6 separate regions of the Homo sapiens genome follow, and all the other regions are linked to region 1. Evidence: promoter capture Hi-C in 16 types of primary human blood cells and fetal thymus (Javierre and others, 2016). All regions are on one chromosome and are shown on one strand. Each heading gives the region's core, a stretch centred on a gene start or on the middle of the fragment in contact. The rest is flanking DNA. Distances are from core to core; before and after follow the strand shown. Region 1 holds the start of CCN6 (cellular communication network factor 6). Region 2 has its middle 53 kb from the start of TRAF3IP2. Region 3 has its middle 23 kb from the start of TRAF3IP2. Region 4 overlaps LOC105377944 (a long non-coding RNA gene). Region 5 overlaps FYN (FYN proto-oncogene, Src family tyrosine kinase). Region 6 holds the start of LOC105377945 (a long non-coding RNA gene).

Region 1 (3,672 bases), core at 398-2,897:
GGCATGGTGGTGTAGGCCTGTAATCTCAGCTACTTGGGAGGCTGAGGCACAACAATCGCTTGAACCCAGGAGGTGGAGGTTGCAGTGACCCAAGACTGCACCACTGCACTCCAGCCTGGAACGACAGAGCAAGGCTCTGTCTCTAAATAAATAAATAAATAAATAAATAAAGCACCCAGCACAGTATTTGGCATATAGCAGCTATTCAGTAAATGCTAGGTATTATCAGCTATTTCATGAATTTATGAATTCATAAAAGCAAAGTTAAGCACAAAATAATCCATTTTTACCGCTCTTTGTGTAACACCTTTCTGTGTTTGTTGTTGTTTATTTTGTACACATCTCTCTGTGTTGGAATACCTGCTGTCTAAGAACATCTAGCTGCTCTCAATCCACAATGACAGGCTTTTTCTCAAGAACAGTGGAATAGGAGGCACACAGACAGGGGAGTGAGCCCCTCCACAGAACAGCAGCAATGACCTGGACCACTGACATTCTTGTCATGATTCTTTTGAAATCGTAAATCTCTCTCTATATGGTATAACAATTTGCAATTCCTTGTTTTCTAAGATGTATCTACTACTTATGGCCCCAATCAACTACTAACTCACAGACACACCCATGTTTCCTAAATCACCAGATTTCAAAAGCTCTGTCTCCTGTCTACCGTGTAAATAAATCAACAATTAAGTCACCTTGTTTTCATCTTCTTATTTAAAAAGACTAAGGCAATGAATTGCTCATAGTAAGTTAAACTTCCCTTTGGTCTGTTGCTTGAAATATTTCCAAGCCTCCATGGACTGCTTCCCTTTCAGGAAGTGAGAAACACATGGACTGAGAAAAGACAAAGTAAGAGAATGTTTTAAAAATGTAAATGTTTATTCCAAAGTGCCCCTTTCAAAGAAGGACAGACTTAACTGGAAAAAGTCGCTGTCAAAATTCGTTTTTCCAGGGGCTCTTTGCACATTTTGCAAACAGCAATGGAAAGTTGAGCCTCCGCCTGGAGCTGGCATGGAGAGACACTGTTTCCCGCACTGTGCCAGGCTGTGCCTTAGGCTCTGCTATAAAAATATATAGGAAAGCGTGGCGCTGTTCAAACATAGCGAAAGGAGGCTTCGGTGCCATTACCTGAAAGGGAGAAATGTTTTACATTTCTTTCATGAAGCTCATGAACGAACACAGAACTTTATTTGGAAAGAAAAATGGCTTCCTATTTCTCATGAAGTAGTTCCACAAGCCATTGATCCTCCCTCTTCCTCCATCTTCGTTTTGTTTAGTTTTGGGCCTGAAGAACTAAGGATGGCCATAGCCTCCGGAAGGGAAAGAGTCGGGGGAGAGGACTTACCTGTGCCAGGCCAGCAAGCAGAAGAGTGGAGAAGAGGAGCCCCTGCATGTCGCTGGGACCGTGGAGCCACCCTGAGGGGTAGAGAAGTCGCCGCTTGTTCATTGCTCCGGGTACACAAAGCTCCCCTGTCTCCTCTGCAAACCCCACGCTCCTCTGCACAAGAACACACACCCTCTACCTCCCACACTACCAACTTTCAGCCTGCACTTTCATTTTTAAGGATCCGTTTTAATACCCTGTTTACTTTCATGGGACTCTTCTAATAACCTGCCTTCGCAGTGAGCGTGTCACAGGTCAGGAATGGGCGAGCACTTTCCTCCCGGGACTCAGGAGGGCAGGGCAAGTAGTGACTGTTCTCTAAGTGACTGTGTTACCTGTTCCTGGAGAGCAGAGCCTGCCCCCGACAACGGGTGGGGTCCCACGTCATTCCCTTCCTTGCCCTCAGCTTCTCCATCTGTGTTTGCCCTGCTCCGGGTCCTCTCTAGGCTGCTTCCTTCTCCAGCTTCACCCTCACGTACAGAGTGCAGGCCTGGCCCCCCCACCAACAGCACCCATCGCAGCCTAGCCCTGGCTTTCCCCCTCCATATTAATGGCAGGCTCTCGAAGGACCCTGACTCCCCCAGCTCAGATTCTCTCGGAGGCACCCACAGTGCCCTGGGCTCACCTTTATCCCAACACCTTTCTCATGCCAGGTGGACTGTGAGTGGAAAAAATACAGATGGAGCAGGGGGCGGACTCCTACAGTACCTGGCCTGAGAGACGCCTCTTTTTGTGGCCACAGTTCCATGACAGATGACAATGAAGTTAACCTCCATTTTTCCGGGCCTAAAATAAAACAATTACACTGGTAGCAATCATTCATTTAATGAATTAAGATTAAAAATAAGCCTGGCCAATATGATGAAATCCCGTCTCTGCTAAAAAAAAAAAAAGACACAAAAATTAGCCAGGTGTGGTGGCAGGCGCCTGTAATCCCAGCTGCTTGGGAGGCTGAGGCAGGAGAATCGCTTGAACCTGGGAGGCGGAGGTTGCAGTGAGCCGAGATCGCACCATTGCACTCCAGCCTGGGGGACAAGAGTGAGAATTATTCTCAAAAAAAAAAAAAAGATTAAAAATAAAATTTTGACAGGTTTGTACTCCTCTTCTTCATACTCACCTCCCTGAAAGGTGTGACCACCAGCGCATCTCCTCCTGTGTCATCATGTGGGACCTTCGCTTCTCCATGTTCTCAGCCTGGGTCTGTGTTCCCATCTTCATTTGCAGCTGCCGTGGTGCTTTGTCCCTCTCAGGTCCCTGAGGCGTCCCACCTGCCTGCCCCCATCCCAAGGCCTATTTCTATTTCCTTTGATCAGTTACCTATCCCTCCTTTTCCTGCTGCCTTACCTATCCTATACCGATTGCTCACCTTTGTTACTGTTCAAGGCAGTCACTACTGTATAAAGACAACATCAAGCCTCGCTTAGGCCTGAGCTGAGGGCCTGGGAAAAACGAGGCTGTCCTCCACCACAGAGAATCTGGTGTCCTTGGAGAACCATGGACACCCTAAAACCTGCAGATCACACAGAGCTTACTAAGGAGTCATTAAACTGTAAGTATATGCACATCAAACAACAAGGAATACCCACTGCAGTTAGGATGCCAACGCCTTATCTTGCCTCCCTAAGAAATAGGACAAAACCAGATAATGGAGTAGTGAAGAAAATGTGTCTGTTTTGGTCCAATCTGATCTTTTTCTTTTCTTTTTTTTTTTTTATTATTATACTTCAAGTTCTAGGGTACATGTGCACAATGTGCAGGTTAGTTACATATGTATACATGTGCCATGTTGGTGTGCTGCACCCATTAACTCGTCCTTTAGCATTAGGCATATCTCCTAATGCTATCCCTCCCCCCTCCCCCCACCCCACAACAGGCCCCGGTGTGTGATGTTCCCCTTCCTGTGTCCCAGTGTTCTCACTGTAGAGAAGTCCTTAAATGACCTGATGGAGCTGAAAACCATGGCACGAGAACTACGTGATGAATGCACAAGCTTCAGTAGCCGATTCGATCAACTGGAAGAAAGGGTATCAGTGATGGAAGATCAAATGAATGAAATGAAGCGAGAAGAGAAGTTTAGAGAAAAAAGAATAAAAAGAAACGAACAAAGCCTCCAAGAAATATGAGACTATGTGAAAAGACCAAATCTACCTCTGATTGGTGTACCTGAAAGTGACGGGGAGAATGGAACCAAGATGGAAAACACTCTTCAGAATATTATCCAGGAGAACTTCCCCAACCAAGCAAGGCAGGCCAACATTCAAATTCAGGAAATACAGAGAACGCCACAA
Region 2 (3,672 bases), core at 610-3,109, 500 kb after region 1:
TTTTCTTGAAGTGGCTTGGCATATTTATCTTATACTGCTATTATATGAAACTGAAGCACAATGTAAAAGGTCTTGACACTTGCCTGACACAGACAAAATCTGCTATTAGTCAGATCAACTTATTTATTTATTTATTTAGAGACATGGTCTTGCTCTGCCACCCAGGCTGGAGTGCAGTGGCATGATCACGGCTTACTGAAGCCTCAACCTCCCGGGCTCAAGCGATCCCCCCACCTCAGCCTCCTGAGTAGCTAGGACCAAAGGTGCATGCCACCACGCCCAGTTTATTTTTTAAAAATTTTGGCTGGGCACAGTGGCTCACACCTGTAATCCCAGCACTTTGGGAGGCCAGGGTGGGCAGGTTGCCTGAGGTCAGGAGTTTGAGACCAGTGAAATCCCGTCTCTACTAAAAATACAAAAAAAATTATCTGGGCATGGTGGCACATGCCTGTAATGCCAGCTACTTGGGAGGCTGAGGCAGGGGAATTGCTTGAGCCAGGGAGGTGGAGGTTGCAGTGAGCAGAGATAGCACTACTGCACTCCAGCCTGGGCAACAGAGCAGGACTTCGTCTCAAAATAAAAAAAATTTTTTTTTTTTTGTAGAGACAGGGTCTCATTATGTTCAACCCAGGCTTGTCTTGACCCCCCTAGCTCAAACAATCCTCCCACCTTGGTTTCCCAAAGTACTAGGATTGCAGGCGTGAGCCACCTCACCTGGCCCAGATCAGTTTCTTTTAGTTGTATCTGGCCAATCTCCAAAACATCAACAATGAAAAAGATTTTTAAATACTGTGATATTCATCTTCCTGTCACCATTCTTTTTTTTTTTTTTTTTGAGACAGTCTCACTCTATCGCCCAGGCTGGAGTACAATAGTGCCATGATCTCAGCTCACTGCAGCCTCTGCCTCCCATGTTCAAACGATTCTCCTGCCTCAGCCTTCCTAGTAGCTGGGACTACAGGCACCCACCACAAGCCCAGCTAATTTTTGCGTTTTTAGTATAGACTGCATTTCACCACATTGGCCAGGCTGGTCTCGAACTCCTAACTCCTGACCTCAAGTGATCTGCCCGCCTCAGCCTCCCAAAGTGCTGGGATTACGGGTATGAGCCACTGCGTCCAGCCCGTCCTATCACAATTCTGATTCCACAAAAATGGCACTTCTTGGAATAATACTTAGCTGTTTGGAACATCTGCATTACCTTTTGGATGTAGACATGAGAAACGTATGGTCATGCTGGCTCGCCTTTTGAGGGAGGCTGCACGAGGCACTTTAGCATACAAAGGAGCCTCGCTCAGTCAACACAGCTGGCATGCTGGGAGGTATTGTGCCCAGGCAGGATAGCATGTTCCTAACTGCATATGACTTCTTCCATTTTCTATTGGAAAATGCTTTAGGATAGGATCACTTTTGGATAGGGTACTTGGCGGCAGGTGGGTGGCTTTTGCAGACCCTGGCAGTCACATGTTGCCAACTCACTGTGCATTTGCTCCCAAATTCTTAGCCTCAAGCAAGCAGGTGGGATCTGTAAGAGGAACACTCAGTGTACTTTAGTTTTCTACTTAACTTTTCAAGGAATATAGGAGCATGGGTCCAGGTTATAGGTATTGGGTGATTAGGAAGTGATATTTGAGGCTTTGCTAAACAATGAAAGTCTTGGACCAAAGTGTACCTGGGCAGAGGTGACCATGTTCTGGGCCTGCCTGCTTTTTTTCTAGAAACTCTCTTATGGAAGGAGTAACTGCAGCCCCCAGATCTCCCAGGGCTTGTAAACGAAAACCATAAGGGCACACATTTCTTGTCCCTTGCCTGACCTCCCTTTGCTCCCTTCACCAGGAAGGGGCTGATGGAAATCGGCAGCTGGGGAGAGAGGGGAGAGGGAGGGAGCTAGCGCGCGAGAGAACTCATGCCTGATGGATCCCATTAGGCTTAGCGTGCAAAGCAAGTTGAGATGAAGTAGCTGCTCTGGTATGCATCCAAAACTGCTGTTCTATTTTTAGTCCCTCCCGCGTGCTTCTTAGGCTCGCGTTGTATGCGCCTGGGCACCTGGATCAGCAGCAAAACATGGAACTGAGCCACTCATTTGTAAAAGTGGAAGGCAGGAGGCCATTGATGCAGGGCTTGTTTATTGCTGACAGGGAAGAGGGACCTGGAATGTTAATGAGGGTGGCTCTCTGAAGCATGCCTTCATGCTTAGCAAGGAGTTCAAAGGAGAAGGCAGACTCAGTCCTGTGCTGAACAAATGTGAACCGTTGATAGAGGGAAGGAGAAATCAATTATGCTGTCGCAGGCTTCCATGTCATTGTGTTGGAGTTGTTAGAAAAGGTAGGACAAGGACCAGATCCCAAAAGGAAACAAAGCCACATGGCCTTGAAGTATAACGAGTTTGCCATGGCAACTGATGGAAATGAGCCTCCCCGGCACCGAGCAGGTGTGTTATCTTACAGAATAAACACACTTCTCTCACTCCCTGGTTTTTATAATAAAACCTGTGTTTGGATTACTTTCCCCTCCTCTTTGTTACCCAGAGAAGTTGGCTGTTGCTCAATTAACCCAAGGCTCCGGTGAGGGAAATGTAATCAGTGTTATCAAAAGGGCTGCTTTTGAAAAGGCTGGCGCTAGACTTGGCTGCCAGCCTCATCGTCGAGCAGCAGCTGGGCCGCAGGTACCTGCCTGGCCTTTGCCACCTTCCAGGCGATGCCCTCCACTGCAAACCACTTGTTCTTGCCTTCACTGAGGTGTTAACAGTGAGGCCGGGCTCTCACACTGGGCAGTGGTCAAAAGCTGCATTCTTCTCAGGAGAGGAGAAACAGGTTTACGTGAGGCTGGGACCAGACCAATTTTCAGCATGCTGTATTGTCTGGGCTATGGGCCAAGGGTTCCTTGAGTTCAGGGATTAACTGATTCTATCTTCCAATCTGTTGTTATCTACAAGGTTCAGTTACTCAGAAACTTGAAGAAAGCTGCTACTTTCCTGAGATTTAAATTCCTCTCAGATGGGTTCTGGGGTGGTAGAGTCTCATGTCTGAAATGTACACAAATGGGGAGATTTTATAAAATCCTCTTGAGTTAAAAAAGTTTACTTTTAATTTTTACGAGGCCAAAATAACAATAAAGTTCAATAGCTATATTTTCATTGCTCTCATTTGTAATTAAAAAGTCCACTTTAGCTTCAAACTGATTTTCAAAATAAGATGCCCGTTCTCCATGGGCTCCTAGAACACAGATGGTTTCCAAACAAGACTGTGGTAAAACCAATGACCTGCGGAGAAATTCTCCAGCCAGGGCCAGCCAGCTGAGGGCTGCGCGTCAAGCAGCAGCCTGTGCTCGGCAGCACTAAGGGCCCTTCTCTGCTTCTGCCTGTGTTCCTACTTCCCTCCAACCAGATGCCCGGCACCACCCCCCTTACCCCTTCCATCAAGCCCTAGCCTCCCGATGATGCCTTGGCTGCCCCTTCACATGTCACCTTACCTTTGACCCTAAGAAGAAAAAAATGTCTGCCTGAAGAGCTAATTCCACCTACGGCATCAGTGGTGAAAAGGGTTTCATGGGATAATCCTCCAAGCCAAAACAGTATCCCAAGGCTTAGGCACTAAACCTCCCCACTCTTATTCCTAACACAACCATCAGACCCTCACCCAGATCACATTTACTCTTACTTTATATACATGG
Region 3 (3,672 bases), core at 836-3,335, 430 kb after region 1:
CTGCTATTTAAGCTTAAGAATGAGACTGTCCTAGGGCTCTTAATTTGCACAGTGTATCAGTCAGGGTAATTAACACTAGCTACAGTAATAAAAATTCCAGTAATATCAGAGGCTTAACACAATTCAGTCATACTCTAGTGCAGTGTGATTTGAGCAGCTCTCCAGAGTATCTCTCCTCTAAGTTATCACTTGGGCTTTTTTCACCTTAGGGCACCACCATCCCCGAGAACTCCTTTGGAGCCTTCTACTGGATCCCCTACCTTCATCTGGCCATCAGTGAACTGATGGTCTAATGGGATGTTTTAGGGGCCAGATCTGGAAATGGCTTTCTGCTCAAATTCAATTGACCAGAACTTGTTGCATGCCCCACCTAGCAGCAAGAAGTCTGGGGAATATTTTCTCTTCGTGTGCTTGAAAGCAGAAATGGAATTGGTGGCAACTAGTCAGTCCTAGACACACCTAGGAATGGAGGTGAACTTGAACTAAGAGCTCAAGGCCTGACAGCATCCCTTTCCTGCCTTGAAGCAGCATTTAATAATCCCATCAGTTGTGATATACATTTATGTCATCTATATAGTGTGATTTGTGGACCATTAGAAAGCTCTTCATCTCCAAAATACCTTCACTAGCCTGCTTATTCTGGAACTTTACCATTAGAAATTCATCCCATTGGGTTCAACATTGCCTTGATCTTTTCTTTCTCTTTTACAGTATGTGCTGGTTATAAGTTTGTGGCCTCTTGACTTTAAATTCACCATTCATTGCATGATCTTCAAAAATGGAGCTGTGCCCTTCAGATATTTTTCTCTTGCATCTGGCACAATGTTAAGCTGTGTGTATATATGTTTAGTCATTTAAATATATACTGTGGTTTGCGGCTTCAGTAGAGGGGTCTGGGGAGACACTGCAGGAGGAAGGGGTTTCTGTCCTGGTTCCCTTATGCTTGCTTGGCAGACACCTGAAGCTTAGCAGGCTCCTGTGGCACAGGCTGCTTCTCCTATGCCTGGCTCCTATAATGCATGGTGACCAGAGGCACCCAGTGGCCAGCAGCTTCCTGGGCACTTCACTCACCTTGGGTGGTTTTGTTGCAGAATGCATCTGGTACAATATCTTCCTGTGATCAGCTTTTCCGGACACCCTAGAGGATGGATTTCCAGGAAGTTTCACCTCTCTGTTCTCTCTGTCATCCCCTATGCCAGAGCTGAGCCTTCAAAAAGTCTGGATCTCAGCCCTGGGGGGCCTCTTTCTTGGCCTCTATCTCAGCTCTAAAGGTAGTGGCTGCTCCTTATAGCTGCCATTCGGATATTCTTTAGAGTTCTTTTTACATCTTACCAATCAATTCTTTGTTACTTTAGTCTCCTGTTATAATGAGTAATTCTTTATATTACACTTTCCCTGTTCAAACTACTGTATAGTTTCTCTCTCTTGATTGCATACAGACTCATATAGAACACAAATGTCCTTGGGGTAGAACTCACAGGGAGTCAATGACACTTTAGTGTAAAATAGTTTGTTTTGTTTTCCTGGCACCTAGAGAGCAATAGTTGCCTTGGAGCTGAGCGAGGGGACAGTAAGAGGAGAAACACCCAGCCAGAGATGATGGGAAAATCCTAGTAAAAAACTTTGCCTATTTCACAATTTTGTCATGAGCTTGACTATAGCTGTTAAGTGTTATTCTTTATTTCAGTGCAAAATGTCTTTGGTTCCCTAGGGTCAGGCTAACAGCGCCAGAAATAGAATGAAAGCACTAGTTTTTCTGGTGAAGCAGCAACTATTGTACTTTGATAAGCTTAGTACGTTCCCCACTTTGTTGTTTTGTTTCTTAATCACACATAGAAATGTGTTGCCATATAAAACATAAAGCGGACAGCTCTGGACGTTTCATTTCATGGAACAGAGCTGGGCTACTCCTGGGTGTACATGATCACCTTCAGGCTGCAAGGAAAATGTGAATCAAAAACATGAGGATTATCAGACAATGAAACAGCTCAGTTCAGGAGAGGATTGTGTTGCCTTTCTCTGGGTGTTGTTAAAAATAGGATCGCAGATCATCTCTTTAGAATGGTGGAAATGTGGTCTTAATTAAAAGCTGGAGTAGGAACAAGGCAACAAAGGTCCCTTCCAACTTAAAAATCTTGTATATCAAAGTGATATATCTACATGATTAAAAAAGCAAATGGTACAGGAGGACTTATTTGGAAAATCAACTGTCCTCTCTCTTATCCTCCTTCTCTCATAGTCTACTGATTCCTGTTCCTCGACTGTCTTCATGTTATAAGGTTATACCCTTTTAAAATGTGTTCATTATCATTTTAATGGGTCCTTGGGAGGGAGTGGCAGAAACCCATGTGCCCAGTCCACCATCTTGAAAAATAAGCTTTCCTATTAAAATTGATTTTTTTTTTTAGGCAAGAACATAAGAAACAGAACCCAGTATTCTGAAAATACCCTGCTTACTAAGTCAAATGCACATATCTGTGCCATTTAAGCCTGTAATGGAAACATTCTTCTTCCAGCTAGTCCAGTCCCTTTTTCTGAAACAGAGTCTCACTCTGTCACCCAGGCTGGAGTACAGTGGCACAATCTCGGCTCACTGCAGCCTCTGCCTCCTGGGTTCAAGCGATTCTCCAGCCTCAGCCTCCCAAGTAGCTGGGATTACAGGCGCCCACCACCATGCCTGGCTAATTTTTGTATCTTTAGTAGAGACGGGGTTTCACCATGTTGGCCAGGCTGGTCTCGAATTCCTGACCTCAGGTGATCCATCCACCTCGGCCTCCCAAAGTGCAGGGATTACAGGCGTGAGCCACTGTGCTCAGCCAGTCCACTCCTTTTGAACTTTTGGATAAATTTCTCTGTCCTACTGGCCACTTGGTGTTCTTCTCCTCCACCTATCTGGTGCTCTTTGGACAAACATTACCTTGAACATCTACATTTTTTTTTTTTTTTTTGAGACAGAGTCTCACTCTGTGACTCAGGGTGGAGTGCAGCGCCATGATCTTGGCTCACTGCAACCTCTGCCTCCCAGGTCCAAGCGATTCTCCTGCCTCAGCTCCCGAGTAGCTGAGATTACAGGCATGCACCACCACACCCAGCTGAGTTTTGTATTTTTAGTAAAGACAGGGTTTTGCCATATTGGCCAGGCTGGTCTCGAACTCCTGGCCTCAAGTGATCCACCTGCCTCAGCCTCCCAAAGTGTTGAGACTACAGGCATGAACACCTGCACCCTGATGAACATCTACATTTTAATTAAAACTTTCAATAGAAGTCAACCTTTATAATAAGCAGCTTGTATTATTATTACCAAAATTAAAATAGCAATATTGCAGATAGTGTAATGGCTACAACCCCAAAGTGCTATGTCCTACAAAAAGAGTCACAGCAACAAAGCAGCTAGGACCCAAGGGGCATAAGTGTGGAGTCGTCGCACTGTGTCCTCCCACCCTCTTGAGCAAGGGTGGTTATCACGTCTCACAATCATTGGCTCTTCTACTAGGACCCATTATTGTAACCCCCCTACCTCTGCCCTTTGTGACAAAAAAAATGGAGGGCTGCGTGGTACATAAAAGAGAGAAATGAGGCTAAATTGTTCTTCATTCTACTGTTGGTTAATCCATCTACACTTCATCCCAATGTCTACTTTTCTCCCCAACTGCTGCAACACCACAGAAGGCC
Region 4 (3,672 bases), core at 782-3,281, 400 kb after region 1:
CTCAGCTGGGGCTACTGATAGGCGCTTTTGTTCCTCTCCACTTGGGCTCCCATGTGTGCGTGGACTTGCTTACACGGTGGTACCCATGTTGAACTACCCCAGCTGACTCATCATTAAGTAGAGACAAGCTGGACCCACCCAGCTCTGCCCAAATTTCAAATTTCTGAACAAAACAAATGACTGTGGCTTTAAGCCATTAAACCTTGGGATAGTTTACTTTGTAGCAATCAATCAATAGAATGTATACTCTATGCTAAATGTTGCATGAATCCATTCCCACATCTTTCTAGGGTGCCTCCTGGTGCTGCAGAGTCTAGGAAGCTAAAAACTACACTGCCCAGAGTCTCTTTTCATTAGGATCATGATTGTGAGTTAAGCTACACCAATTAGACTTATTTGCACAAAGCTTGGAAGGCAGAGGCCAATGTCTTGCAGCTTTTGGCTACTTTCTGCTGCAAAGCAAGATCATGGAGCTACTGATAGCCACTCTCCAGCTTCATGGGCATCAAGAATCTTGTGGACGTGGCAGTGGCTAGGTTCCTCTGCCTGGCAAATGCGGTGGTGGCAGTAATTCACGCTGTTCCTGGCTTGCTGACCACTTTCTGGCCTTGTCTTGCAGCCATGATGTTCTTGCAGTCAACAGTCCCAGTGGCAGCTTCCTGAGTCCTCCTTCCTGATTGTGGCAGAGGTGATAGCACCCCTGACAGATTGATTTTACCACATTCTGGGAGCCATCCTCGGAGGCCCAGCCTAGAGCCCTCTCTTCCAGCCTTTCCAACAAGTTTGCAATTCTTCATGTTATATTCTTTTTTGCTTAAAAACTCTAGCATGGTTTCTATTTCCTACACAGAACCCTGTAACAGATATCCAGGTGATCCCAAAGTTTTGTCTCTTCTCAGTCTTTCTTTTGTTCTTGCTTGTTTGCTTTCTCTCATTTAATCATTCCTTTAATAAATATTTATGGAATGTCTACTATGGGCCAGGCACTGCACTAGACCCTGGAGAAAAATCGATGAACTAAGCAGACATGGCCTCGCCCTCATGAGATGAGGCAGGGCAAAGACCATGAGGCAGCAAAAGACAACCCTTGGGTCCAGTCGGCCCCTGCTTGTTTTTGTATATAACGTTTTCTTGAAACACAGCACACTCATTCATTTATGTCTTGTCCATGGCTGGTTTTGCCCAACAATGGTAAAGTTGAGTAGTTGCAACAGAGACTATATGACCTACAATGCCGAAAATACTTACTATCTGGCCTTTTTTAGGAAAAGTTTGCCAGCTCCTGTATTAGATAAATAAAACGCCAAGTCATACTCCTTTGGTTCCCCACAGCCAATAAGTTGCTCTTTCTGTCAATTCTGCGGACACCAGGGGTCCCCAACCCTTGGGTCATGGAGTGGTACCAATCCGTGTCCTGTTAGGAACCGGGCCGCCCAGCAGGAGATGAGCGGCAGGTGGGTGAGCATTACTGCCTGAGCTCCACCTCCTGTCAGATCAGCAGTGGCATTTAGATTCTCAAAGGAGTCTGAATCCTATTGTGAACTGCATGAAAGGGATCTAGGTTGCAGGCTCCTTATGAGAAGCTAATGCCTGATGATCTGAGGTGGAATGGTTTCATCCCGAAACCCTCCCCCCACCCCCATGCCCACCACCAGGCTATGGAAAAATTGTCTTCCATGAAACTGGTGCTGGTGCCAAAAAGGTTGGGGACAGCTGGCAACACCACAGCACCATGCATGGTGCTAAGCACTTCATGAGAATCCTCTAAGTTAATTCTCAGAACAACCTTTGGGATACATTATTATTATCTCTGTTCTACAGACAAGGAGACTGAGATTTAGAGAGATTTGGGCTTAGGTGACTGGGAGGATGGTGATATGGAAAAGGAATAGAAAACAGGCAGAAGATGACAAGCTCAGTCCGAACTCACAGCACATGAGGCACCTGCAGAGAGGCACACGGGGCTATCCCGGTAGGTTTCAGGCTTGGTGTGAATTTCAAGTCTGGACAGCTTTTAAGTTCAAATCACAATTCTACCATTGACTAACTAGCTGTGTGACTTTGGGCAAGTTACTTCACTTTCCCTTCTGGCTTCTTTTATTTTTTATTTATTAATTTTTTTTTTTTTTGAGATGGAGTTTCACTCTTGTTGCCCAGGCTGGAGTGCAATGGTGTGTGATCTCGGCTCACTGCAACCTCTGCCTGCCTGGTTCAAGTGATTACCCTGCCTCAGCCTCCCGAGTAGCTGGGATTACAGGTGCCAGCCACCACGCCTGGCTAATTTTTTGTATTTTTAGTAAAGACGGGGTTTCACTATGTTGGCCAGGCTGGTCTCGAACTCCTGACCTCAGGCGATCCACCCACCTCGGCCTCCCAAAGTGCTGGGATTACAGGCTTGAGCCACCACACCTGGGCTATTTATTAATTTTTTAAAGAGACAGGGTTGCTCTGTCACCCAGGATGGAATAAAGTGGTACAATCATAGCTCATCACTGTAACCTCAAACTCCTGGGCTCAAGCCATCCTTCCACCTCAGCCTCTCTAGGGGCTAGGACTACAGGCATGCACCACCACACCCAGCTAATTTTGTGTGTGTGTGTGTGTGTGTGTGTGTGTGTGTGTGTGTGTTTTCTTTGGTCCAGGCAGGTCTCAAACTTCTGGACTCAAGTAATCCTCCCACCTGAACCTCCCAAGGCACTGAGATTACAGTTTTCTCATAAATAAAATGGGCTCTTGTGAAAACTAGAAAAAGTAATATGCAAACAGTATCTAGCATCATAGGGGCTAGGTACACAGATACATGTGCCAGGTATATGGTACGTGGTATATGTTTGATACGTGTTGGCAACTTCTCCTTCCCCTTCAGTCTTATCCTTCACATGGTAGAAAGTAATCTTCCAGAATTACAGCTTTAATTATGTTATTTTCCTCCTCAAAAAATGTGGTAGTTCCCACTGACCCCCACTGTCATGGAAGGAGACCTGTTTGGAGGACCTGCCCAGCCACGCCTCTTTCTTTCAACTTCCACACACACTATCCCCTCTATTGAAGGGTGAGCACAGTAGGTTGTGTTTTCACTGTATAACACCCCCACCCTGCCCCCGACCAGAACAGCTGATATTTGAGGGGTAGACACCTGACCAAGGGACAAACAGTCCATTGGCCACTGGCTAATCAAATTGTCTCTGTCCAGTTGGATCCAAGAATCAAGAGACCGTGGTGACAGATGCTTGGCCTGCAGGTTGGCTTAAGTCAGGGCTAGAGTTGCCCTATGGGTGATCAGATGACACAGCGTGCAGAGAGAAGCAGTGGCAAGAAACCATGGGCCACCAGAGAGAGTGACTGGGAATAGCTACTGTCCACGCTCTAGCATCTGGAGGTCCAATAGCGCTACCCCACATCATTTCTGTGAGATTCCTCTGAAGCATTGTGTACATCAGCTCTTTACTTGAGCAAATCCAAGGGAGTTTGGTCCACTACAGTCTGGCTCCACTGTCTGGCCAGGCTCATCTGTCCCATCACCTCCACCATCACCCCTGCCTTATCTCCTGGCTACACTGAGTTACCCACAACTCTGCAAGCATGCTCTGCACTGCTCCTTTCTTTCCTCCTTCCTGGACTGTTCTTTTTCCCTCCCTCCTCTTCTTAAAAGCTTATCCACTCTTTGAGACT
Region 5 (3,672 bases), core at 583-3,082, 380 kb after region 1:
TCTGTGAAGCCTTCCCTTCCAGTAATACAAAGCAGCTTTTTGTTTCTCAGGGTCTCACACAGAAACCAAGACAAAGGGGTGGAGGTGGGGGCCTTGGAGAAGGAAGGCAGGTGCGTGTTTCTGAGGGAGTCTTTTGTCAGGTTTGGTTTTAGCATAAAGAAAATGCCCTCATTTTACCACTTAGACCAGGATTCATTCATTCAGCGTAGCTTCAGTCACTGTGAACTGTGCCAGGCATTTTCCTCTATCGGGGAGATAGTGCAAATAAGACCCTCATACTCTAAACAAGCCTTGATTAGTACCTGCCTCAGGCTAGGCATTGTTAGCACAGTGGGCAAGTAAATAAATTTAGTCCCTATGTTCATGGATATTACAGTCAGATAGATAAAATGTGCATCAAATCCAGGAAGAAACCAGCCTTCTTTATTCCTTGTTTATTATCAGAGGGAGTCATCCTGAAAGGATGGACTACTTGGCTTTACCTACTATGGGGCCTAGATCTTCATTCTGATAATGGGGTCAGGGACACCTGATCCAGGTATCCACACACAGCAGGTCCTGAGAGGGACTCTTCAAGCTGAGTCCTGTGAGGATGGCAGAGGAGTTTGAAGTGAGAACTAACTCCAGCGGCTCCTGCAGAGAGAGCTGTGAGCAAGTGCTGGTCTGCAGTGGGCTGTGATAACTGCCTCTAGCTGTGGAGGAGTGCTGGAGAGGGGGCTGTGTAGGGAAGGCAAGTAAGCCAGACCTTGGAAGCCAAGTAGGTTTCCTCAAGCCCAGAAGGCGGGAAGAGCATCCCAAGGTCTGGCACGTGGGAAGGCACATAGGCCTGGGAGGACAGTTCCAGGGACCACAGGATGAATCTGAGAAGATGCCATGTGCAGGGGCACACCTGGAGATGTGACTGGAAGGGTGGCCGAGAGCCTGCGTTGGGGCCTTGCTGGTTGGCAGTGGCAACCAGGGAACCGTGTCCTCATTGGGGGTGTCGTGAGCTGGTCCTCATTCAAAGAAAGCCACAAAAAATTGTTCCCAGGCCTGTTCCTAGCCATGGGTTCTTCCTGGGTTTTGCTTTTTAACATAGCTATAATCCTATTTAATTGGGTTTGTGAATCCAACAGAAAACTCTTCTTGAGGGAGAAGCTTTTACAGAGGGATTCCAATTATAGGATTATTACCCTAACGAAGGATAATAATTCCTAAGGAACAAGAGGTTTCACGAAGCTTCCTTCAGATGTCACTGTGAAGGCAAAGAAGGACCTTCCTCTCTGCATTCTTGCTATTTGTTGGTGTGGCAAGTCAGTCAGTGTGCGCTGAGGGGTCCTTCTCAGCTTCCCACGTTGCGTCTTTGTGCCTGTTGCTGGTACCTCAGGACAGACTCCCAGTCCCGGTCCGTCATGATTTCCATTCTGCATTTTGATGTAGTCATGTCTCATGTCTCAGTTGGCTAGAGTATATTTTGAAGTAATTCTTTTTTGGAGAACAGTAGATGGTGGTACATTTTTCTGAGTCTTCCATACCTGAGAATAGCCTGCTGTTTCCTTGACACATAAGAAAGCTCCTTTGCCTGGTAGGTGAAGATGGAGGTGCGGGAGGAGGGGGTGACATATAAATTGGTTTTATAAAAGCTTTCCAGGCATCTTTGCCCAGCGTGAAAGAAGGTCCAGAAGTGACAATCCCAGAAGGAACTTAGAGTGGAGTATGTGAGGTGTGACCAAATAAAGGGCAAAGGGAGGCGGAGATGTTAGAACATTGGCAAGTTGTGTGAGAGGAGTGGACAAAAGAAGGGAAGACGACAATCTCAAACTGAATGATAACCTGGAAGCCGAAGGAAAAAATACTGAAATATGATGCTGAGATTAACGGGGGTGGTAGAGAAAAGTTACATCACCTTACCAGATGAGGAAGGTTGCTTTCGAGATGTGTAACAAGTATGGATGCAGTTCCAAAGAAGAGCTCCATCAGTTCCCCGCTAGCAGCCTGAGCTGAACGCATTCTCTGCATTGCAGTCTAGCTTGCTTTTCTGCAAGCAAGAGTTCAGAAGCTTTCTTTACTTCAAGATTAGAACTGATTTCATACTGATGGATTGTTGTATGTGAGAAATAAAAAGACTTAAGTAAAAGCAGTTTTCTGGGGTTGATGCATAAAATCAGTTATGCATTTTTACCTGTCATTTCACCTTAATACCTTTCTCAAATCCTTCTTTTCCCCTCTGCTTCCAGTTTCTCCCCGCCTCCCCACCACCCACCCACCCACCATTCTATCATTGTTGCCAACAGAGTTAGTATTCTAGAAAACACAGACCTGGTTATCTCACCCTGCTAGTTAAAAACGTCCACGGCTTCCCTTTGCCTTTCAGATAAATCCTAGAAAACGTAATTCTACATAGTTCTTCATAACTCTTTTTCTGTAGTCATTCCACAAATATTTATTGTGCACCTACTATATGCCAGGTACTGTTGCAAGCACCAAGAATACAGCAGTGAAGCAATAGACAAATGCTGCTGCCCTCATAGACTTCCATTCTTCTTTGAGGAGACAAACAATAAACAAAGATAAATAAGCAAAATATATTGAATGTTTGCTGCTGGTAACAGCTAGGGAGAAAAATAAAACAGGGAAGGGGAGAGAGGGGAGAGTGGCAAAGGAGCACCTCACTGGTGAGTAGAAGACCTAAAGGAAGCAAGAATCCAGCCAGGTGGGTATCTGGGAGCACAGCCTTCCATCAGGGGAAGGGAGAGTGCAGAGACCCTCCAGAATCAAAGGAGGCCAGCATGGCTGGAGCAGAGGGAGCAGGAGGTCCCAGAGGCCCCAGGGGCAAATCAGATAAGGCCTTTCTAGCTCATGGTTGAAACTTTTGCTTTTAGTCTTAGTGAGGTGGGAAGTGAGGGGATTTGAGCAGGAGAGTGACATGATTTCTCTCTTGCTGTCTTCCATCCTTCACACGTTACCAAGACACATCAAGAGATGTCTCTTGAACATGCAGGTCTCTCTTTGTGGCTCCCCTGTCTGCCTCAGAACCCTTCAAAGCCCAACTGAACATCATCTGCTTTGGAAAGCCTTCCCCATGTCCAGACCAAATGGGGTGCTCCTTCTGCTTGCCTCCATGACACCTAGCATATTTCTGTTGGGCCCCCCGTTTGTGTGTATTTCTCAGCAGCTTCAGAGAAGGGAGTCCCTTTGATGGATTCCCGAGGTCCAGCACAGGGTCCACCCCATAGTAGACTGTCAGTAAGTATAAGCAAATAAATGAGTGAATGAAACAGAAAAAAAAGAACTCACCTATGAGGTTTTTGAAACAAGGTTTTTAAATTTAGCCCATAGCCTGCAAAGCCTTTTAACTGCATTCCATCATCTTCACACATGGATATATATTTTCCTAGCCACAAGGTAGCCTCTGTCCTCAAAGTTCTTCTGGAAAATTGACCCTGTGATCATTTCAAACATCATGTTCCAACACTATTCTAGGCAGAGTGTCCTGGCTATTCTGTGCCCTGGCTCTTAACCGAACACCTGTTTTGTGGATTTGGCAGGACCTGGTAGAACAGGAACACTTTCTTTTTTTTTTTTTTTTTTTTTTGAGATGGATGGAATCTTGCTCTGTCAGCCAGACGGGAATGCAGTGGCATGATCTCGGTTCACTGCAACCTCTGCCTCCTGGGTTCAAGCGATTCTCCT
Region 6 (3,672 bases), core at 424-2,923, 360 kb after region 1:
GCACCATCATGTCCCCAGGTGCCGTCAGAGCCCCTTTCAAAAGGCCAACCTTGTTCTTTTAGCCTTTGTACTGCGTTTCCTTACTTAATTTCCAAATCGAGGGTCCCGTCCTTCCTTCTTCAAACATTTTTCTTCTTTCCTCCCTTTCCCAAACACCTTCAAATCCATGCCAAACACTAGAAAGAGAGAAGTAAGAAGTAAGTGAACTGGAGAGCTGAACTGGGGGGGGGGGAAATGAAGCTTGGCAAGGCAGGTCCCAGGATGTCCCAGGAGAATAAAAGACATGCTGTCCTGCAGCAGAGGGGTAGGGAGTGGCAGAGCCATTTATAAAACACCTTCCAAGTGCCAGGCCTGAGAGGAAACGTGAGGACCAAGCAGGGAAACAATAGGAATAGACTCAGAGGGGTTAAGTAACTTGTACAAAGTCACACAGCTAGGAAAATAGCAGAGCCAGGATTTGAATCCAGAAATGGCTGACCCTGTTGCATCTACCATTCTAAGCTATGCTGACCACATCTCATCAAGTCAGTGATCAAAAGAACAGAAAATAAAGATAGAGAGGATTAGTCATACATCCCTTTTCCCCTTTATTTTATGGGACTGTTTTTAAGGAGCACCTTCTAGTGTGTCTGTATGAGGGAGTTGGAGAGACCTTCCTTTTCCAGCACTGGGACAACCCAGCTGTTTATAAAATTCCTCCCGAGGGCCTGCCCTGCCCTGGCTGCTTTACGAGGCAGAAAGGGCCTGGTGTGTGTCTGCTGGTGTACTCTGCAGATGGCATGTGTGCTGTGTGCTGAAGTTTCTGCTGGGAATTAATCAGCTCCTCCAGACAGCTGGTCCGCATGCCTAATAATATTTGCAAGTCGGGTTTTATGTTACCCACAGGCCACAGCCATGCTGCATCTTGATTATGGGAATGCAGGCGGCATTCGGAAACATGCACCAAACACAGATATTTTAGGACCATGAATGACAATTGTTTTCAAAACAGTTGTGAGTTTCCCATCTCAGCGTGCACGGAAATATCTGTCACCCCTTGGGCAGATGAGGTGGCATTGCATAGGGCACAAGCAGAATTGGAGTGTGGAGCTGGGTTCCACAGTCCTTCCTGTGCTCCTTACTTCGCACCATCCCAGCTACCCAGGACTGAGCAGCAGCCCATGTCAGGGAGGTGGTCAAGGCCAGGCCCTGAGCCTGTGAGGTGGTCTTCCACTGACAGCACTCTAGAAGCAACTAGAAATTTGGGGCGATTGCTTATTCTCTATTCCCTGGACATCTCACTCAATTACAGCAGATAGTTCGTCTTTAGTTACAAACACTTTGCTAAATTCTGCCCAATCAGAGTCTCTAAATAATGCCAACATCAGTTATTTGAGTGCCTTATCTATGAAAGGACTTTACTAGGAGCTACTGATATCAAGAAGCCTAAGACTGCACGACAGTCAGCAAGCATGAGGAGGAAGACGTGGGGGATTGTTGAAGTCAGATGGAACTGGTTTTGAAATCCAGCGCTACCACCTGATGTTCTGGGGTCTTAGGCAAGTTATTTAACTTTTGCCTACCTCAGTTTACTTATCTGTAAAATGGAAAGACATTTTGTCTGCTGTATGCATTTTTGCAAAGATTAAGTGAAACAATGCATGTAAAGTGTTTAACAGGGTACCCAGCACATAGTGATAAATGTTGCTTGTTACTGTTGGTATATCTGGTACAATACTAAGTTCTTGGGGAATAAACAAATGAGTGAATGGATTGTAGATACATGGAAAGTCTCAAACACTATTCAGGAAAGGGAGAGAAGAATCAAAGATAATTCCCAAGTAGTCAGATGCAGGTGATTGTGAGAATGGCATTACCAATAACAGAAATGAGTACTTGGGAAGATCTTACTTTCAGAGAAAGAGGATGCATTTGGGTTTGGATCTGTTGAGCTTGAGGTGGTGGTCTTGGTCCTCCAAGCCCAGAAAGATGAGTCGGGGTGCCCTCACTGGGTCTCACTGCCACAGCTGGGCCCTCAGCCTTCCAGCCCTCCCCTGAGTTCTGGTCACAGCCACCTCCCTACCCCACCACTGCACCTTCTTCCCAGAATCATTCCAGAACTCACCACAGGCACCACAAGGATCTGCTGTCCATCTTCTTGTCCATACCACACCTGTCTCCTGTGACCCCCGACATAGGCAATGTCACAAGCCTTGCTTCTGGAAATTCACAGCCCCTCCAGCCCTCACTTCCTTCAGAGATTGCACAAGCAGGAGAGAAGCAGTGGGAAAATCCTCTGCAGACTCTAGTTTTTTCTTCATGAGCTTTCAGTGCCGACTAATGTTGATTTAAACCTAACAAGTTCAGACAGACATGGCTGTGTGTAAGCATAACTTCCTTTTGTGGATACCTTTTTGTTCTTTATGAGCTATAACACACATACAGTAAAACGAACAAATCTGAAGTGTGCAGCCCGATGAATTTTTATGTACATATATGCCCCTGAATCCACCCCGAAGATAAAGATACAGAATACCTCCAGCACTCCAGAAGACCCCTTATTCCCACTCCCAGTCAGTAACCACCCCCACAAATAGCCTTTTTTCCCCTTTTCACCATAGATTGGTAAGTTTTGCCTGTAAATGAACATCACAGACATGAATCCTATAGTATTACTCTTGTGTCTGGCTTCTTTCCCATTATGTCTGTGAGATTCTTCCATATTGCTGCATGGAACAGTAGTTCTTTTCATGGCTGAGTAGTATTCCACTGTACAAATATATCACAGAGCCTCCATTCTACTGTTCCTGAACATTTGGGGTTATTTCCAAATTGGGGCCATTATAAATACGGCTGCTGTGGTGATACACACATGCCCTCATCTCTCTGGGCTGTGTTCTCCAGTGGAATTGGTAATTACAGGGCAAACCTAGGTTAGCAATTGCAGTTACTGCCTAACAGATTTTGTGGACATATTTTTAAAAAGGTGAATACACACTTAGTGTGTCATTTGCCAGTACTGTACTTGCCTCTAAGCTGCTAGTGAGGCAGCCTAGTGAGACTGAGGAACCAGGGGTTGGACATTAGGATCCCTGGCTTTGAATCAGCTCTGTCACTTACAAGCTTGGTGTCCGCAGGCCAGTTACTTAAGCTCTTTGAGCCTCATTTTTATCATCTGTAAAATGGTGATAATAAAAATGATCACCTCACATCATTAGTGTGAAACTTACATGGGCTATCTATAAAAGTTCTTTGAGAGTTGTGAAATGTAAAAATCATCCTTATCACCTCAACTTTTTGTATTTGACATACATTTTCCTTGAAAACAGTCTAAAAAGTTTTTAAAGAGAATCACTATTAGTAATAAATAGGGAAAAAATCAATCTTTCAAGAAAAAAAATACTGTCTCCCTATTTTATAGCCTAGGCCAGTCAGTGGATCTGGGCAGTCACCACTTTGATATACCTGCATGCTCCAAGGGCCCCCTCACCCCGGACACAGCGGGGAGTCACACATCCACTGTCCTCATCTCCGGCCAGCTTGCCTATTTTCTCATATTTGCATTCTCTGTTGAGAACTATCCCTGCCTCTGCGCTGCCTCTCTTGTTTTTAATCTTGTGAAGTCTGAATATCAGATGGGCCTTCTCAGCATTTTCACTGAGGCATGTGCATACACACATCAACATGAGCACA

Evidence for each region. Contacts are between HindIII fragments. The CHiCAGO score rates a contact against its expected background, and 5 or more counts as called.
Region 2: a fragment that was not itself captured here is called in contact with the fragment with the promoter of CCN6 in region 1 in 1 of 17 cell types (naive CD4 T cells); the score reaches 5.1 in naive CD4 T cells.
Region 3: a fragment that was not itself captured here is called in contact with the fragment with the promoter of CCN6 in region 1 in 3 of 17 cell types (total CD4 T cells, activated CD4 T cells and non-activated CD4 T cells); the score reaches 7.1 in total CD4 T cells.
Region 4: a contact is called between a fragment that was not itself captured here and the fragment with the promoter of CCN6 in region 1, in 1 of 17 cell types (non-activated CD4 T cells). The highest score is 6.7, in non-activated CD4 T cells.
Region 5: a contact is called between a fragment that was not itself captured here and the fragment with the promoter of CCN6 in region 1, in 1 of 17 cell types (non-activated CD4 T cells). The highest score is 5.6, in non-activated CD4 T cells.
Region 6: a fragment that was not itself captured here is called in contact with the fragment with the promoter of CCN6 in region 1 in 7 of 17 cell types (naive CD4 T cells, total CD4 T cells, naive CD8 T cells and 4 more); the score reaches 8.0 in naive CD4 T cells.

The regions. Positions count from the first base shown.
Region 1 is chr6:112,052,079-112,055,750 of GRCh38, reverse strand. CCN6 (cellular communication network factor 6) reads right to left here and starts at 1,647. Exons shown (of 5, transcript NM_198239.2): 1 at 1,346-1,647. The coding sequence starts at 1,393. The HindIII fragment of the contact is 6,629 bases long and covers 1-3,376 here.
Region 2 is chr6:111,550,850-111,554,521 of GRCh38, reverse strand. It overlaps TRAF3IP2-AS1. Among named protein-coding and RNA genes, the nearest start is that of TRAF3IP2, 53 kb to the left of the region's middle. RefSeq lists enhancers at 1,048-1,740, 1-3,672. The HindIII fragment of the contact is 4,095 bases long and covers 1-3,672 here.
Region 3 is chr6:111,626,677-111,630,348 of GRCh38, reverse strand. No RefSeq gene overlaps it. Among named protein-coding and RNA genes, the nearest start is that of TRAF3IP2, 23 kb to the right of the region's middle. The HindIII fragment of the contact is 588 bases long and covers 1,792-2,379 here.
Region 4 is chr6:111,647,874-111,651,545 of GRCh38, reverse strand. All of the region lies in intron 2 of LOC105377944 (a long non-coding RNA gene), which reads left to right. Among named protein-coding and RNA genes, the nearest start is that of TRAF3IP2, 44 kb to the right of the region's middle. The HindIII fragment of the contact is 3,246 bases long and covers 409-3,654 here.
Region 5 is chr6:111,669,341-111,673,012 of GRCh38, reverse strand. The region is part of intron 13 of FYN (FYN proto-oncogene, Src family tyrosine kinase); the gene reads left to right. Among named protein-coding and RNA genes, the nearest start is that of TRAF3IP2, 65 kb to the right of the region's middle. The HindIII fragment of the contact is 416 bases long and covers 1,625-2,040 here.
Region 6 is chr6:111,688,662-111,692,333 of GRCh38, reverse strand. All of the region lies in intron 12 of FYN (FYN proto-oncogene, Src family tyrosine kinase), which reads left to right. It overlaps LOC105377945 (a long non-coding RNA gene), which reads right to left and starts at 2,481. Exons shown (of 3, transcript XR_001743812.2): 1 at 2,105-2,481; 2 at 85-176. The HindIII fragment of the contact is 2,862 bases long and covers 243-3,104 here.